Linked DNA regions of Homo sapiens: region 2 is linked to region 1. Evidence: promoter capture Hi-C in 16 types of primary human blood cells and fetal thymus (Javierre and others, 2016). All regions are on one chromosome and are shown on one strand. The core of a region is centred on a gene start or on the middle of the fragment in contact, and the rest is flanking DNA. Distances in the headings are between cores, read along the strand shown.

Region 1 (2,969 bases), core at 279-2,778:
TTTGTTTCTAAATTGAATGATCATTTTCCCATAGATGTGATAACTTTTTTTTTTTTTTTTCTTGAGACGGAGTTTCTCTCTTGTCCCCCAGGCTGGAGTGCAATGGCGCGATCTCGGCTCACTGCAACCTCCGCCTACCCGGTTCACGTGATTCTCCTGCCTCAGCCTCCTGAGTAACGGGGATTACAGGGGCCCGCCACCACGGCTGCCTAATTTTTGTATTTTTAGGAGAGACGGGGTTTCACCATGTTAGCCAGGCTGGTTTTAAACTCCTGACTGCAAGTGATCCGCCTGCCTTGGTCTCCCAAAGTGCTAAGATTACAGGCGTGAGCCACCGCACCTGGCCCTGATAAATATTATATTCTATTTTCTGATAGTTTCCTTATACCTTAATTTTAATTGAGTTTTAGAATGATTTTTAGAGTAAGATTTAGAATGAGTACTTTATCATCTGTTTGGTTGGTCTATATAATTGGAGCTACTTATGGTCTCTATCTCAGTGAATACTTCTTCAATATCTCTGTACTTTTTGCCTGTTTAAAAAACATTGTTGCTTTACAATATCTATTTATCTAGTCTTTCTCATTTATTTGGTTATTTTTCAGAATGTATTTGTAATATTTTTTCAGATTTCAAAATCTTATGGGGGCTGGGCGGCGCAGTGGCTCACGCCTGGCAGCTTACAAGGTCAGGAATTCGAGACCAGCCTGGCCAATATGGTGAAACCCCGTCTCTACTAAAAATACAAAAATTAGCTGGGCGTGGTGGTGCGCGCCTGTAATCCCAGCTACTCCAGAGGCTGAGGCAGGAGAATCGCTTGAACCAGGGAGGCGGAGGTTGCAGGGGCCACTGCACTCCAGCCTGGGCTGCAGAGCGAGACTCCGTCTCAAAAAAGAAAAAAAAAATTAAAAAAAGGGAACTTTTACTGAAACGGAGTTACATTGTACGGCGGCAAGAACCTTCAAGTTCTAGTTATGCCACTGCTAATTGTCTGATCTTTCACAAGTTTAACTCTAAACCTCAGTTCCTCATCTGTAAACGAGGGATAACATTAATATTTATCTCACAAGATTTTCAGGACTGTTTAAAAATTCATATAAGACATTTAGCATATTTCCTACGTGAACGCCTTGCATAGGAAACACTAGAAAAGTTAATTATTATGATTAACTTGGGGGCAAATATCCATTTACAATGTGAAGTCTTCGATGTAATGGCTTCTTTTAGATTAAAGACCGACAAGAGTGTCACTGTCATGCTTTTCGTTTGACACCCACTTCAACGAGGGGCCCGCTGCGCCCGCGACCGCCGCCCCTTCCTCTGGTCGGATTTAAAGGGGGCCAAGCTCCACGCTTTAGCAGAACCCGAGGAGGGGAGGGAGCGTTGCCTGGGAGATGAGGGTGGGGCGAGTCCAGCATTCAGAGACGGCTACCGGAGCCCAACCACCGGCACTTCCGGGGGGCGGGTGGAAGCAAAGGCGCGGCACCCGACGCGACGCCCAGCAGCCAATCAGAAGGCGGGGCGCCCATTCAAATTGCGGCCTTCTGGGGAGCCGGCGCTGGAGGTGGTGAGTGGCGTGGGGACTGTGTCGAGGGGGTCCCCAAGGTGCCGGACCCTGCGGAGGGGCGAAGTTTCGGCACTGGGGAGGGCGTGCGGACGCTTTCCCTACAGGCGACCACTGCTCTGCGGGCGGGTGGTCTTAGCTCCAGTCCCCCATTCAGTTCCTCAGCATTCCAGGTCGGCGGCGAAGGGGTCCCCGAACGAAGGGCGCAAGGCAGCGTCTCTGCTGGGACCGGGAAGCCGGACTTCAGGGCCTCTCGGCCCGTGGGCTTCTCCCCGAGTCTCCCCGAGTCGGTTGGCATTAAGAGGTAATTCTTAGTCATAGCCCCTGGTAATGACTAGCAGAGAAAGAACAGAATCACCGGATGTTTTGGTTTGGATTGTGCTTATTTTCCTTGTATTCCTTCCAGTCCTCTTTAAAATCTGATGGCGAAACTCCTCAAACAGAAACCGTATTGATTTGTGCAAATCGCAAATGGTTTTTAGTTGCAAGAGAATTTCCAGAATCTTCTTTTTGCCTTTAAATTCATTTCATAACAGGAAAATTCTGTATTTTGAGTTGAAACGTTGATGGGAGATGCTTATAAGCTGACGAATTTTTTTTGTAATGACTGTTATTTATGTAAAAATTTAAAAGCCTCATTTAAAAATGAACTTCCATTAATTTGTTCCTCGCTAGCAATAATCTTTGCAATAGTTTGAACCAGTGTCATTTTACAGGTTAGAACCCGGCATGCAAATTTAAAGTCTTGTTTACATCCTTGTAAGGAGTTGGATACAAAGCTGACTAAAAGCCAGGTCTCTTAGCTGTCACTGCTGTTCCCTTTCTTTAAAACGTTAATACCTGATAGATATTGTTGCTGTATATTTACATACACCTCTGTCTAATTTGTTGTCTTACTGCTAAAGGGCAGGTTGTCTGTTTATCTAATCTTGCATGGTTTTTCTCAACACAATTAATTTACAGTACTTATCGTACTTACTGCCTGTGGTACTTGGGAATAATCTGCCTCGTGACACCAATCAATTCAATCTTCTCTATAGGCATTCCTGTATTCAACATACATGGGCCGGACGCGGTGGCTCACGCCTGTAATCCCAGCACTTTGGGAGGCCGAGGCGGGCGGATCACAAGGTCAAGATATCGAGACCATCCTGGCCAACATGGTGAAACCCCGTCTCTACTAAAAATACAAAAATTAGCTGGGCATGGTGGTGGGCGCCTGTAGTCCCAGCTACTTGGGAGGCTAAGGCAGGAGATTTGCTTGAATACAGGAGGAGGAGGTTGCAGCAAGCCAAGGTCGTGCCACTGCACTCCAGCCTGGTGACAGAGCAAGACTCCATCTCAAAAAAAATATTTTTATAAAAATAAAATAAAATAAACCTTCTTATGGAACATTGGCAAAAAA
Region 2 (2,969 bases), core at 345-2,844, 530 kb before region 1:
CAGGATGGACCTAGGAGCACACAGGAAGGGAGTGCATTTCAGGGAGCAGAATGCTAGCCGAGGAAAGATACAGGCAGGGTGATGATAGCTACCTCCTGGGGACACCTGGATAGACAAGATGTGGAAATATGAGAGAGGAGTCAAAGATAGTTTGATGCCACAATCTAGGACCTGCAGAAATGCAGAATGACAGTGGAAGGCCTCCCTTCTGTTTGATGAGGAAGATGGTGAGCTCAGCATTGGGTATCTTTAGTGTTGTGTGTCAGAGGGTCATCCATTGGAGGTGACAGACTCAGCCCCATGCTTTTGTCCCCATGAAAGTCCCACCTTCATATGGAACGTATATGGGGGGAAGAAGTGTCTTTTTCCAGTACTTGAACTATCCCTTCTGCCCCCACGAGGTAGGCATTCTGTCTCTGCCTGAGCTTGCTCACCAAAGCAGCCATTCTGACCTCCACAATGAGCTAACATTGCCATTTATAGAGCCTCCCTCTTTGTGTCAGATGCTGTTCTAGGTGCTTTGCATATGTAAACTCATTATATCCCTACAACCACCTTGAAAATTTGGTAATATTAATCCCATTTTATGGGCATGGAAACCGAGACTTCTGAAAGGATTCCAAAGACTTCCAAAGATCCAAAGGCGGTGTCCTAAAGGAAACCACCCAAATTCACACAACTAGGAAGGGAGGAACCAGGATTCCTGCCCTGGTCACTCTAGCTCCAAAGCCCCTGACCTTTGCATCACACTGCAGGCCTCCTGCCCCTGCCCCCTGCCAACTAGATTTAATTTAATTCTATAGAATTCAGTTTAGCAAACACTTCCTGAGCACCTACCAAACACAGGTCACTCTGCCAGGTGGCAAGGATATAAAGAGGAATAAGACATAAGCATAGGAGAGAGGAACACAAACTCAGTGGCCTCCAGATAAGTGCCCACCTCAGTTCACAGGGCCTGCGAGGGGCTTGATTCCACCTGGACCCAGCCCCTATGCTAATCCAGCCACCAACCTCAAGTTTGGGCCATATTGATACCCCTCCCACCCACCCCTAAGGAATCCCAACATATCAAAGCTGAAGGGGATCTTAGAATCCAACCGAATCATTTTACAGATAAGGGAAGTAAGGGAAGCTGAGGCCCAGAGAAGGGAGGTATCTTTTCCAGGCTAACACAGCTGCTTAGGGGGAGCGCCAGGGCCAAAGCCCCGGTGTCCTCACTCCGGGTCTGGTGCCCTGAATTCATATGACTCCCCTTTCCTTCACAGCTGGCAAGAAGTTCACATCTGCCACATAGCAGCCAGGGACCCTCACCCCTGCATCCTGGCCATGCACACTTTGCCCCATTTTGCCAGGCCCAGCACCAGCATGGGGTAGGGGGATCAGGCTGAGGACGCTGTTGTGCACACTCTTCACAGGCCCAGCCCACACCACCCATCGCCAACCCTAGATTTCTCCTTCTCAGAGGTGTGTGTAGGGGTAGAGACGTTGCCGCGCAGAAAGTCTTCTGCAGCAAAGACGTGGATCCCTAAATAACATTTCCAGATTTTGAATGAGGACAAAGCCCTTCAATCTCGTATCGTTTTTGTTGACGTTACTAGCTTACAGTGTATAAAGCGCTTTCTTTCTAAAACAGCAAGATGAAACAAGCTGAGTTTTATAATACAAGGAAGGGAGAAGCACCGCAGTGGGAGTTCTCAGGCCACACAAAGGCAAGACCCTTCCCCAGGAGTTTGGAAGGCTGACGTTCCCTTTTCTGGTTTGGTCGGGTTTGAGAAATGCCCGCCTCTCCCTTGCGCAAGAGTCTCCCCGCCCAGGTGAAGGCGGGTCTTGTTGCCATGGCGACAGCGCGGTCGGGTTAAGGGGCTGCTCTGGCAACCAATAGAAGCTAGGAGAGGGCGGGGACAACTGGGTCTTTTGCGGCTGCAGCGGGCTTGTAGGTTCGTGGACGCGGCATTGGGGGAGGGGACGGGGGTCGCGGGGCTATTGGGGGTCCCAGTCCGGCTTAAGACCTCTGGGCGTGGTGGGCACCGGCCTTCGCCGTCGGAGCAGGGGTCCCAGACTCGCACCCAAAAGTTCCCGTCGGGCCCGAGCGGGGAGGAGCTGCGGGGCGGGCAGAGGCGGAGATGGCGGAGGGCGGTGGGACGTGATGCGCGGGTCAGAGCCGGGCCTTGAGAAGGAACTGGAGGCCCCTGGCAGCGGTGTCCCCTCGAGGACCCCTCTGCCGGGCTCACCAGGTGGCTGGCGGAGAGCCGGAGAGTTGGGCGGGAGGGAAGCAGGGTTTGGCGACCAGGTTTAGCAGGCCTTGGAATCCTGGAGCCCAGCCCCCAACCCCATTCCCACTTGGCCGGATGGTTAAGGGCCTAGCGTGCTGGCTGCGGTGTGGCCACCTTCCCCTTCTCCGACTCCGTATCTCTTTTTCCAGGTGTCCGGCTTTGCTGGCCCAGCAAGCCTGATAAGCATGAAGCTCTTATCTTTGGTGGCTGTGGTCGGGTGTTTGCTGGTGCCCCCAGCTGAAGCCAACAAGGTGAGGGAGGTGAGCCTGCAGCACCTGGTCACGACCACAGTGCACGGCCACCCTGTCTACAGGGCTGACTCAGAGGTAGCCAGCTGCTCCTTAAGCCTGCCTCTCACTCACCTATGGGCCATACTTCTTTTAGTGGTCTTCCTTCAGGTTCAAGGCTGCTGGCCTCCCTAAGGATAGTGCGGGTGAGGAGTGAGGAAGGGTGGGGCACAGAGCACTGGCTCACTCTGATCAGACAGATCAGTGGTGGACTTCCAGCAAGGAAGTTTGGAGAAGTTATCTAAGTTCTCCATACCTTCCTTTGCTTTGGACCAAAGTATGTTTTGTTTCAGATATTTTTGGATTTGGGAGTATTTGCACATAAAAAATGAGCTATCTTGGGGAGGGGACCTAAGTCTAAACCTGAAGTTCGTTTATGTTTCATATATGCTGTATATACATAGCCCGA

What was found. The method cuts DNA at HindIII sites, captures the fragments that hold promoters and counts their contacts. A CHiCAGO score of 5 or more calls a contact.
Region 2: a contact is called between a fragment that was not itself captured here and the fragment with the promoter of KIF14 in region 1, in 1 of 17 cell types (naive CD8 T cells). The highest score is 5.9, in naive CD8 T cells.

What each region holds. Positions count from the first base shown.
Region 1 is chr1:200,619,310-200,622,278 of GRCh38, reverse strand. KIF14 (kinesin family member 14) reads left to right here and starts at 1,528. Exons shown (of 30, transcript NM_014875.3): 1 at 1,528-1,868. RefSeq lists a silencer at 1,441-1,590 and an enhancer at 1,759-2,260. The HindIII fragment of the contact is 3,652 bases long and covers 1-2,969 here.
Region 2 is chr1:201,153,413-201,156,381 of GRCh38, reverse strand. It overlaps TMEM9 (transmembrane protein 9), which reads left to right and starts at 1,908. Exons shown (of 5, transcript NM_001288565.2): 1 at 1,908-2,524. The coding sequence starts at 2,459. RefSeq lists a silencer at 1,832-2,111 and an enhancer at 2,522-2,671. The HindIII fragment of the contact is 3,749 bases long and covers 1-2,969 here.